Regions from separate parts of the Homo sapiens genome. Here region 1 is linked to region 2. The links are contacts of gene promoters, found by promoter capture Hi-C in blood cells and fetal thymus (Javierre and others, 2016). All regions are on one chromosome and are shown on one strand. Each heading gives the region's core, a stretch centred on a gene start or on the middle of the fragment in contact. The rest is flanking DNA. Distances are from core to core; before and after follow the strand shown.

Evidence for each region. Contacts are between HindIII fragments. The CHiCAGO score rates a contact against its expected background, and 5 or more counts as called.
Region 1: a contact is called between a fragment that was not itself captured here and the fragment with the promoter of PLAGL2 in region 2, in 1 of 17 cell types (endothelial precursors). The highest score is 5.3, in endothelial precursors.

The regions. Positions count from the first base shown.
Region 1 is chr20:32,509,045-32,515,222 of GRCh38, forward strand. It overlaps NOL4L (nucleolar protein 4 like), which reads right to left. Exons shown (of 11, transcript NM_001256798.2): 4 at 2,303-2,412. It overlaps LOC101929698 (a long non-coding RNA gene), which reads left to right and starts at 915. Exons shown (of 3, transcript NR_110619.1): 1 at 915-1,624; 2 at 2,171-2,344. RefSeq lists a silencer at 1,934-2,329. The HindIII fragment of the contact is 4,104 bases long and covers 2,328-6,178 here.
Region 2 is chr20:32,206,015-32,211,651 of GRCh38, forward strand. It overlaps PLAGL2 (PLAG1 like zinc finger 2), which reads right to left and starts at 1,729. Exons shown (of 3, transcript NM_002657.3): 1 at 1,627-1,729. POFUT1 (protein O-fucosyltransferase 1) reads left to right here and starts at 1,866. Exons shown (of 7, transcript NM_015352.2): 1 at 1,866-2,051; 2 at 4,057-4,178. The coding sequence starts at 1,928. RefSeq lists a silencer at 1,516-1,935 and enhancers at 1,700-2,613, 2,076-2,205. The HindIII fragment of the contact is 5,170 bases long and covers 643-5,637 here.

The sequences.
Region 1 (6,178 bases), core at 3,130-5,629, 310 kb after region 2:
TCTGAGGCACAGCTTCCCTGACCCCTGCCTCAGTCCACCCTCCAAGCCCACCCTAAGTACCCCCAGTGCCACGTGTCCTTCTGCACCATGGCAATGCCCCACTGATCACTTCCTCCATTGTTTATCACTGCCTGCTGTGAGCTGGGCATTTGTGTGGGATCCTCTGGCTGGTGTCTGTCTCCCCTAGATCAGAAGAAAATACAGGGATGCCAGCCGGAATCTCAGCACTTTGGGAGGCCTAGGCAGGCAGATTGCTTGAGCCCAGGAGTTCGAGACCAGCCTGGCCAACATGAGGAAACCCTGTCTCTACAAAAAATACAAAAAATTAGCAGGTGTGGTGGCAGGTGCCTGTAACCCCAGCTACTCGGGAGGCTGAGGCAGGAGAATCACTTGAACCCAGGAGGCAGAAGCTACAGTGAGCCGAGATTGGGCCACTGCACTCCAGCCTGGGTGGCAGAGTGAGACTCTGCCTCAAAAAAAAAAAAAAAAAAAAAAAGAAAAGAAAGAAAATCTAGGGGTACTGCTGTTTCTGTAAATCCTCAGAGCCTGGCTCACAGAACAGAGCTCCATAAATATTTGTGGAATGACTGAATCCTCGTTAAAGCACCTAACCCATAGTCTTAACTCCCCTCCTTCCATTGACGCAAGTGAAGATACAGTTAGGATTTTTAACCAGATCAAATATCTGATTTGTTAGTGAGAGATCGCAACTTGCACGACACTGACCACTACTGGTTCTAGTGGTGACCTGGATTTAGTGCCATTCTGTATGAAACAAAACCAGGGGGCTGTGCTTCCGGCTGTTTGTGCGGTTTTGTGCTTCATTCTTCATGGGCACAGATGAGCACGGTGATAACAGTGTTTACGAAGCCAGGTGCCGGAGACAGTGAGGATGGCTACAGGAAAGAAAGGCCACAGATTGCTCTTCAGTGGCAGTGAGAGGAGACCTAATGCAGAGGCTGCACAGTGGTGCTGGGATTCTATAACCAACAACAAAAGCAACACCCTCATTACCGACACTCCTGCAGCTCAAACTACTTTGCCTTTGTGCGTTGGAAACCCAACCCAAGCCCATTTTCCCCACTGGAATTATTTGTGATGATGTGAAGTTTTTGGAGATGCAACCATCCCAGAACAGGCACGCTCAGATGAGAAGACGTGGGAGACACAGTTCTAGCAAACAGTTCTACCGCTCAGAGCAAAGCCTACGTCACACAGCCTCTAGGGTCTGGGCACAGTGTGGGGACAGGAGGGCTGGCCGCCCTGCCTCTTGAAAGGAATACGCAGCTCTGCAGGTTCAAGCCACCCAGCTGAAGTCCTCAAACTGGGTAACACGGGCCAAGATGCCACCTGCACGTGTCCTGCTACATCACCATGGATCTGGCCAAGGAGCCACCACCCCCTCGGAGCACGCATGCTGGGGTTGTCAAGGAGACCAGTGCACAGGACGGCCGCACCCAGGGCTGGAGACCGGCAGCGCAGGACAGCTGCATCCAGGGCTGGAAGACAGACTCGAGTTCTGACCCATCTTTCAATGGGAGAGAAAGAATCCAATCCCCTGCTAGGGCCACAAGGACATGATGGGTTTGGATGCCATAAGAGATGAGAACACTCCAAGCTGAAGGCAAGAAGTGATTACCCTGGTTTTAGGCAGTGGTTGGGGGGTGGAGGTGGAGGGGAACTCACCTAGTCCTTCTTTGAAAGACAGTCAGGCTACGTGCTTTGCAAAGGGTTAGGAGGTGGACTGTGTGGGAAGGCAGGCGAGAGGGAGTTTCTTTTCATAGCCTGTTTCCATGGTGTCTCACGGCCCTTGGCAAACCCCAGCTGGGGAGGCTTGGACGGCCAGGAGGCCCCAGGTCCACCCTCCAAGGACTATCCCCTAGTCCTCTGGGCCCCAAGAGTGACAGAGGCCACAGGCAGGCGGCTACTCTCTCTTGCCTCCCTGGGGGAAGGTGGCAAGAGGCCAGCGATAAAGGGCAGAGCAGAGAAAGAACAACTCCAGGGGCCAGGGCTGCGGCTCCCTCCCTTCCACGTCCCCTCCTCCCCCTCCTCCCACGAGCCCACCCAAGGGGAAAGTTTTCTCCCTGAAGACCTGCAGGGCTGTCTGCACAGGAGACCCTCTCACGAGAAACACATTCTTGCCTCCCGCCTCTCCGCCTGGACAACCCAGATAACCAGATAAGGGCCTCTTTGATTTCCCGTGTGTTTACACAAGCTGTGGCCCCAAGTCTTGGAAAGAATCAACCACCGCCAGGCAAGTCAGGACGCCTCCAGGTGGGGTGAGGGGAGACGGCCGCCTTACCTGCTCCTGGGAATTCATCACTCGAAGCTTCATCTGCTTCAGGTAGGTGGAGGTGAGGGGCATGTTGTAATCAATAATCCCAGAGACCAGTGGAGATGGAGGCTCGTTTTCTGGCAGAAAGAACAAAAGGAAAGCCCTTTCAGTCTGTGCTGCGGGCCTGTTGCCCACATGGAGCATTTAACAGAGCCCGTGGAAGAGGAAGCCACCTTGGAGGAGAAGGGACAGGTCAGAGGTCGCAGACTCTGTGGCTCACCCACATCTGGCCCAGAGATGTGGACTGCATGGTGTCAAAAATATTTTTTTTTTATTAAATGCCAGTGTTCTATTTAGAGATTTCACACGTTAAAAAACAATGAGGCCGGGCGTGCTGGCTCATGCCTGTAATTCCAGCACTTTGGGAGGCCAAGGCAGGAGGATCCCTTGAGCCCCAGGAGGGGACACAGGCCCCAGGAGTTCGAGACCAGCCTGGGCAACACAGGGAGATCTCGTCTTTACAAATAATAAAATAAATTAGCCAGACGTGGTGGTGTGTGCCTGTAGTCCTAGCTACATAGGAGGCTGAAGTGGGAGGATCGCTTGAGGCCAGGTGGTCAAGGCTGCAGTCTGCAGTGAGCTGTGATGGCACCACTGCACTCCAGCCTCAGCAACAGAGTGAGAATCTATCTCTAAAAAACAAACAAAAAAACCCAGCAAACCCACCCCCACAACACACACACACGTTTATAGGAATTTTTGGCTTCTTTGAAGAACATAAGGTCTGGCCACATGGGGCCCCCACTCCCGAAGGCAAGCAACCACTGCCACTTCAGCAGCCACTTCTTTTAGACAGGGTGTGTGGCTCCCATTTTGCCACAGTCCCCACCACTCCTTATCATATTGCACAGCTTTGCTCATTTGCAAGTATCAATTATGATACTTGCCAGACCCTTGAAGGCATCTGTGTTTCCAACCACTGTCTAAGTCAGTTATCTTCCAGGTGAACACATGCCACTCTCACCTCACCCAATCCCGCCACCCCATAGCATCCCCCAAAAACATCCTCAGGTGCCTTATGCCTCCCAGGTCTGAGCCAGGCCTTCAGTAGCCCCCAAATTCTGGTTCCTCCTTCATCATATGCAGAGGAACATTCTCCTCCCATTTATTCCTTTGTTGTCCTGAAGATCAAAGTGATGCATGTTCTTTTTGCAGAGAATTTGCAAAGTACAGAAAGATGTAAAGAAAAAATTTAAAAACCATAATTGCACCACGCAGCTTGGCATATGCTTCTGTTTATTTTTTCCCTGTGATTTTTCTTTTTTACACATGATCTCATAATGCATACAGAGAATTCCAGTCTGCTTTTAAAAAGTTTTTTTTTCCTTAACATTTTGTCATAGGTATTTTCCCCAACATCAAGAATCTTATTTTGCTTTGTAAGTAGAATTTTTATGGCCATGTAATATTTTACCATAATTTGCTTAAGTCATTCTCTAACGATTGGCTATTTAGGTTGTTCCCATTGGGGCTATTATAAACAACACTGCAGGGGACATCTTTGTGCATAAATATTGCTCCGTATTTCTGATCTTATTTCTTGCCTTTTTGGAACAGATTACAAGAAATTAAAAGGTAGGGACATAATTTGATAACCATTAAAATCTCTGACCAAGCTGCTGTAGGAATTGTTTCAATTACTTGTTACCTGGCCTCCTCCTCCTTCTTCCAAGGACTTCAGGCCAGATTCATTTTGCCCCAGCCTTTTAATCAAAAGGTGCCCCTGGTACATAGTCCCACTGATGGGCTGGGATTTCCATAGCGTGAGGAAAAGTGGGAGCAACTTCCAGACCAAGTGCCCTCTACCATCACAAGGAGGCCCAAGAGACAGGCTGCAGGGTGACAGGGCCGAGGTCCAGGAGGACCAGAGGATATCCGGGGGTGACTTATAATACCTGCCCCTCAAGAGCCATAGCCCAAAAGGGTCCCTGCAACCTTGAAAACGCGATACCAAGGGCAAGAAGCCAGACATAAAACGACAACCACTGTATGATTCTACTTACACGAAATACTTAGAATAGGCAAATTCAAAGAGACAGAAAGTAACTCGAGGTTACTGGGGACTGGTGGCTGAGGGAATGGGACGTTATTGCTTAATGGGTACAGAGTTTCTGTTTAGGGTGATGAAAAAGTTTTGGAAATAGATAGTGGTGATGATTGCTCAACAGTGTGAATATAATATCTTTAAAATGGAACGATTAAGCCGGGCACGGTGGCTCACGCATGTAATCCCAGCACTTTGGGAGGCAGAGGCAGGAGGACTGCTTGACCCCAGGAGTTCAAGGCCAGCCTGGGAAACATAGTGAGTCCCTCGTCTCTACTAAAAGGTAAAAATGTTAGCTGGGTGTGGTGGCACGTGCCTGAAGTCCCAGCTACTCGGGAGGCTGAGGTGGGAGGATCACCTGAGCCCAGGACGTTGAGGCAGCACTGCGATCCAGCCTGGGTGACAGAGACTGTGTCTCAACAACAACAACAGAAACAAACAAACAAAATTATTAAAAAGGCAAGTTTTTGTGCTGTAAATGTTTTACCATAATTTAAAAAGGAAAAAAAGTCTGCCAACAAGCGGTGAAGTTACCCAAAGAGGACAAGGGAAGTTCCTGCTTGGCAAGGATAGGAACAGCCCTGCAGAAAAGGTGGGGACCCGGAATAGCTGGGGCCTAGAGGATGGGGGTCCTCTTTGACGCTGTGTACTTCTGGTGACTTTATAGATCAAATAACATTTTGAATAAAGTTTTACAGGAATGCAGAACTTAGTTTTGCTCTTTAAAGCTACCCTGTCACATATAGAATGTTTCATTCTTTGTTCTTTGAGGAAGAAGTAGACGTCGGCTGGGTGTGGTGGCTCACACCTGTAATCCCAGCACTTAGGGAGGCTGAGGCAGGCGGATCACCCGAGGTCAGGAGTTGGGAGACCAGCCTGACCAACATGACAAACCCCCACTCTCCTAAAAATTCAAGAATTAGCTGGGCATGGTGGCGCATGCCTGTAATCCCAGCTACTTCAGAGGCTGAGGCAGGAGAATCACTGGAACCCGGGAGGTGGAGGTTGCAGTGAGCCAAGGTCATGTCATTGCACTCCAGCCTGGTGACAGAGCAAGACTCCGTCCCAAGGAAAAAAAAAAAGTAAATGTCACTAATGGAATGGCTAAGAAACTGGCCTGAAAGGAACCACCCCCTCCTCCTCCTTTTTTTAAGAGAGACTTCTGCTTGGTTGGGTGGCAGGGATCCTCTGCACCGATACCAAACTCAAATGGGTTTCCACCCCACCGTCAACCTAGATTTGACTTTCTTAACCTCAGTGGGGTTTTAAACCCTAGCCCCATACATTGACCGGGTCGGATGCCACATGTCAGGCAGGCAGTCTAGTGATGACACTGAGATGGTATCGCTCAGAAGAGCCGTGGGTCCTGTTTTCAGAGGTGGATGTTTGGACTGAGAATTCTGCCATTTCTGTTTCCTCTAAGAGGAGGCTGTCTGGTGAGAAGCTGTTAAGCACCATGGTGAGTGTGACATCATGGTGAGTGTGAAGGGCGCCCAGCACTCTCGCGGCCCCGGTCGGCCCTTCGTTGGGTGTTGCAGGGATTGTCTAGGTTTGGGAGGCACGGAGGCGGGGAGCTGTGTTCTTCTACTGATGGTCGCCCCTGTCCTGACTGCAGTGTCATGACTGTTCATGAGAAAGTATCTTTAATAAAGCTAGTGACAGTGTGGCTTAGGAAAAATAAAACAGTGGCCAGGACAGCACCCTTGGGAGGCGTGAGAAGAGGTCTTCCTTGGCCTGTTCCCACCCCAGTGTCTCCAGAGATGAGAAACCACTTCCCGTGCCTGCAGGTAAGCCAAGAG
Region 2 (5,637 bases), core at 479-2,978:
AACTCAATTCAACACCTGCCGGAGGAAATAGACCCAGAACGTTCCTTGGGATAGAATCTTCCCTTAAGCAGAACCCAAAATAGCAACTGGGAAATTATAAATAGACTTAGAGGAAAGAAAAAACAAAACAAAACAAAACAAAAAACAGATCCTGATCTCAGAACCAGAAACAAATCCTAAAACACACTGGTTGGCTGGAAAACAGTGAGAAGAGGGGAAATGGGAATGCTGTCGCCCCCTTCCCCCCCGCCCACTCCAGAGTGGTGGGAGAATTAAATTACAGGGAGGCTGGAGAGTCTCAATGACTTGCACCATTCCAAGAAACATCAAACAGGATTAACAGGGGTTGGATTTACTCTCAGGCTGCTAATTCTTCTGTCAGTGTAGATGGGCCCTCTTTGGAGTCTCTTTGATTCACTATTTCCTCAGATTCCTGCTGCCTCCCACTCCTGGGGAGGCCTTGAACAAATGGCTGCAACTCATCACAACCCCATTTTCATGGGGAGAAAACGTGATTCGACACCCCCGCTCCCAATCTGGTGGCCTCACCTTAGGAGAGAAAGGTTAGAAACCCAAGACCAGACTCTACACACAGTCCCATGGCTGACAGGTGGAAAAACACACAAGCCAGGAGACAGGCTAAGCTTGCAGGTGAAAGCACCGATTCCCCCACACAGGTGTCCCCATATCCTCCACCTAACAGGCCCCTTTCTCCCCACCAAGGTGGGCCACAGCCTGGTCCCAGGCCAACTTTTAGATCACCCCACTGTGGTGTGGGAAAGGTTCAATTCCCCGAGCCTGGGAGAGATGGGAGTGGATGAGGGCTGGAGAAGCAAAGGAAATCCAGGGAGAAGTCTGGAGGGAGTCTCTGGGATGGGAAGGAAGAGCGAGGATGGGAAGGAATCATGAGCAACTTTCCTGGGTCTCTAAGGGATCCCCACAAGAATGAAATGGGGGATTATAAGGGCTGGAAGGCTGGGGGGATGGGGATAGTCAGAAGTGTATCCTCTGAATTTCAAGAGGGTCTCAAAATGGGTAACGGGATGGAAGATGTCGAAAGCCTGGGAGTATGGCCACTGAGGAGGGAACTACAGGTGGGGCTTATTCGACTTCTCCAGACCCAGATATTTGAGGGAAGCCTCAAAGGGAGTTATGTAAGTCTGGAAAATGAAACAGGGTACAGAGCGGGCTATCTGGAGCAGGAAAGGGGGTTATGTGGGTCTGGGTAGGCGTGTCGGAGGGAGGGAGCAGGTGCAGCTTATCTGCGTCCCCCAGACCCGGGTCCCTGGTAAGGTCAGCAGCGCCTTATCTGGGTCTCCAGGGAGCCTAGGGGTCGGGAATGGGGGACCCTCAGGACTGCGTCTCCAGGTCTCGGAAGGGAGGGGACCGGTGGCTTCCTCGGGTCCCCCAGACACAGGTATGGGGTCCAGGGAGAGTTTTCGTCACCCCAGGGCCTATCTGGGGCCGGGTTGGCGCAGACCGGGCCCCGGGTCGGGGGTGTGGGCGACCGCGCTGAGGGGCCCGAGATGAGGCGCGCCGCCGCTCCGGGTACAGGGCGCGCGGACGCAGCGAGACGGCCTCCCGCCCCTCTCCCCGCCGTCCCCTGGGGCCCTCGCCGGCACTCACCGCGCTCGGGGCCCCACGCTGCGGGCCGGGCCGCGCTCGGGCTCCGCCAGGCCCCCTCAGGCCCCGGTAGTGGCGGCGGTCGGGCCATTGTGCGGTGCATTGTGGGAGCCGCGCGAGCGGGCGCTCGGGTCGTGGAGGGGGCGGTGCCGCGGGATCTCTATGGTCCCGCCCGCCCGCGGGCTAGAGCGGCCGGGGCGGTGCGCGGGCGGCGCGCAGGGACCGCTGGGAGCGGGGCGGGCGCTCGCGTCCCTCCTTCCCTCCCCGACTGTGCGCCGCGGCTGGCTCGGGTTCCCGGGCCGACATGGGCGCCGCCGCGTGGGCACGGCCGCTGAGCGTGTCTTTCCTGCTGCTGCTTCTGCCGCTCCCGGGGATGCCTGCGGGCTCCTGGGACCCGGCCGGTTACCTGCTCTACTGCCCCTGCATGGGTAAGGCCTCCCAAGCCCTCTGCTCAGATGGAGAAACTGAGGCCGGGAGAGGAAAAGCCACTCCTCAGATGCGCCCAGAGACACCTTCACAGGTCCAGGAGAGAACCTCAGAGCGGGACGGGGCATGCTCTTCTCCTCTCTGCCTTAGTTGCAAGGGCACAGAGGGGCCAACGTGTCCAACTTTCCATTTGACAGATGAGAAAACTGAGGCTGGGAGAGGTTACGTGACTTGCTTGAGGTCTAAGCCAGTCCAGGGTCCAGTAAATGGAGTTAGTGGGGCAGGACTTGATGTCACTGACCCACGCTGGCTCCTGGTGATTTTTCATTGATTCAGCAAATATTTATGGGGCACCTATTCTGTGCCGGGCCCTGTTCTCTGTACTGGGAATACCGCAGTGAATAAGATAAACTCCGTGTCCTTGTAGAGCCTTCATTTTAGTTGGGGAAGACAAACAATTGAGAATAAGTAGGCCAGGCGCGGTGGCTCACTTCTGTAATCCCACCACTTTGAGAGACCGAGGCAGGATCACTTGAAGCCAGGAGCTCGAGATCAGCCTAGGCAACATAGTGAAAATCCAATCTCAAAAAAAAAAAAAAAAAAAAAAAGCAGAGCGTGGTATCGTGTGCTTGTAGTCCCTTGGGAGTTATCTGGGCGGCTACTTGGGAGGCTGAGGTGGGAGGATCTCTTGAGCCGAGGAATTCGAGGCTGCAGTGAGCTCTGATCGTGCCACCGCACTGCCAGCCTGGGTGACAGAGTGAGACCCTGTCTCGAAACAAGCAAACCCAAAAAGGGGTAAACATAAAACAATAAATACATAGTTTCATAGAGGATGATGAATACTAAGGGAAAATAAAGAGAGCAGGGTAGGGGAGAATCTAAAGACCATGCCAGGTGCACAGTTGAAATGGGTATGGTGGATCATCATTGTGGAAGTGGATGATCTTAAGGCCCCCAGTGGCTTCCAGACTCCTGACCATGACTTTCAGGGCCCTGAATGATGTGGCCTCCACTGGCCATCTCCACAACTCCCTTCTCTGCTGATCCTCCAGCTGCAGCCACACTTAACTCCTTTGCGTTCCTCACACATGCTCAGGTCTTCCAGTCTGCACTGCTGCAGGTGGCGGTCCCTATGCCTGGAATCCTCTCCTCCATTTCTGCCTGACCAGCTGTTTCCCATCCTTTAGATCTCAGCCTAAATGTCACCAGAAAGGATTTCACTGACCTCTACCCAAGTAATCTCCTCATTACCCTATCACCAAACTTTTTTCATCTCTTTCTGGCAATTATCAACATTTTTCATGTATTTGTTTACATGTTTAGTGTCTCTGCAGTGAACTGTGAGTGCCTTAGGGGCAGAGGCCTTGTCCTTCTTGTTCATTCCTGTATCCCAGCACCTAGCACAGAGTCTGGCACATTGTGGCCTCTCAATCATATTTGTGAAATGAATGAACAGGTGCCATGCTGGGATTAAGAAAAGGAATCACACAGGGTCCTTGCTTCTGAGGCATTCACAGGCTGAGGAATCAGCCAGTACGAAGGCCAGGAAGTGAGCAAAGATACTTGAGGAAAATTGAAGAACTGAAGTAGCTCAGAGCCAAGGTGGGAGGTAAAGGAGGGAGAGTGAGTATGGCAGGGGATTGGTGAAAGGAGCCCAGTGAATGAGGCATTCGAGTTGCCCGTCCATGTGCAGGTGAATGGAGATAGAGGTAGAAGCTCTTCTGGCTGAGGGACAGCAAGATCAGAGGCATTGGGTGGGGATGGGAATTGTAGAGCATGTTGGGGAAACAGCAAGAAACCTGGAGTGGCGGAAGCAGTTGTTGCAGGACCTGAAGAGCCTTGGATATCAGACCCAAGAGTCCAGACTTGTTCTTATGCTGCCAGCTCCCCTAGTTCTCCTTGGTATCCCTGACTTTCTACCCCTGGCTCCACAACCTTTCTGAGCCCTGCATGCTCTATGCCCTCCATGCCCCAGGCCTCACCTCACCCGCAATGTACCATTTCCAGGGCGCTTTGGGAACCAGGCCGATCACTTCTTGGGCTCTCTGGCATTTGCAAAGCTGCTAAACCGTACCTTGGCTGTCCCTCCTTGGATTGAGTACCAGCATCACAAGCCTCCTTTCACCAACGTGAGTACTTCCCACTGACCTTGGCCTTTCTCCGCCCTTTCTCAGTCTTGCTTACTTACACTTAACCCTCAAGTCCTCTGGGCTTTACCTCCCACTCCTCTGAGATTTCCCTACCTCCAGCCAGAACTGTCTTCACTGCAATAACAATGCCTAACATTTATTTATCCAGCACCTGTTGTGTGCGGCTGCATGAGAATTAGCTCATTTCACCCTCATCACTTGCCTGTGAGGAAACCGGGGTTTACAGAGGTTAGGTAACTTGCCCAAGATCACACAGCCTGTGAGTAGGAGAGCTGGAATTCAAAGCTATCTTTGTCTGACTCCAGAGCCTGTGACTTGAACCTAAAGCCTCCATTTCCTTCCCTGATTGGTCCTACCCTCTGTGCATTCCATTGGCCAAGGGTGGCAGATGCTATTATCAATTTTAAAGGAGACATGCAGGCACAGGTTATTTAATGACATGTCCAAGGCCACAACCCAGGTAGTCTGGCTTCAGTGCTGCCTCTCACCCCATCAAGGGGCTCCCTTGTCATGCGATGCTCACCGGCCCCCAGTTCCTTGCTTATTCTTTGTGTCTTCCAGTGACCTTGTGTCGTTGTTCATATTGTATCTCCCGGAGCCTGGCAGTAGGAACTTAATTAGTATTTGATGAATTGACTTAATAATTTTCCAATAGACATCAGAAATAATACTTAGTGTGAACAAAACACTTAATTTCATTCTTACAACCTTTTCTCTGCATAGATTTTACTTTTTCCTTTGCATGCCAGTATTTACAGAGGTTTTGAGCAGCAGTCAAAAGCCAGAGTACCAGAGATCATAGTCTGACTTGGGTTCTTACTAGTTGCATGGCCTGGACAGGGTACTTTACCTCTTTGTGCCTCAGTGTCCTCATTTTAAAAATAAGCTGGTAATGATTCTTGTTACCCTCTTGTGGTAAGGACTGAATGTGTCAGTGGCAGTAACACGCCTTCAGTGTTGTCATATGCCGCCTCCCTCTTAGAATCAACTGAGCTTATCAACGTACAGATCCTAGAGTCCTCAGTTAATGGAAACCATTGATGTTCTGATAATTTCGCACTCACTATTTTTTTTTTTTTGAGATGGAGTCTTGCTCTCTTGCCAGGCTGGAGTGCAGTGGCACGATCTCAGCTCACTGCAACTTCTGCCTCCCGGGTTCAAGCGATTCTCCTGCCTCAGCCTCCTGATTAACTGGGACTACAGGCGCACCACCACGCCCAGCTAATTTTTGTATTTTTAGTAGAGACAGGGTTTCACCATGTTGGCCAGGATGGTGTCAATCTCTTGACCTCATGATGTGCCTGCCTTGGCCTCCCAAAGTGCTGGGATTATAGGCATAAGCCACTGCGCCTGGCCTCGCACTCACTATTACAGTGTAGACATTGCCCATCCATCTCCCTCTGGCTTGCTTGCCTCTGTCTCCTTGCCTTCTCAGCCA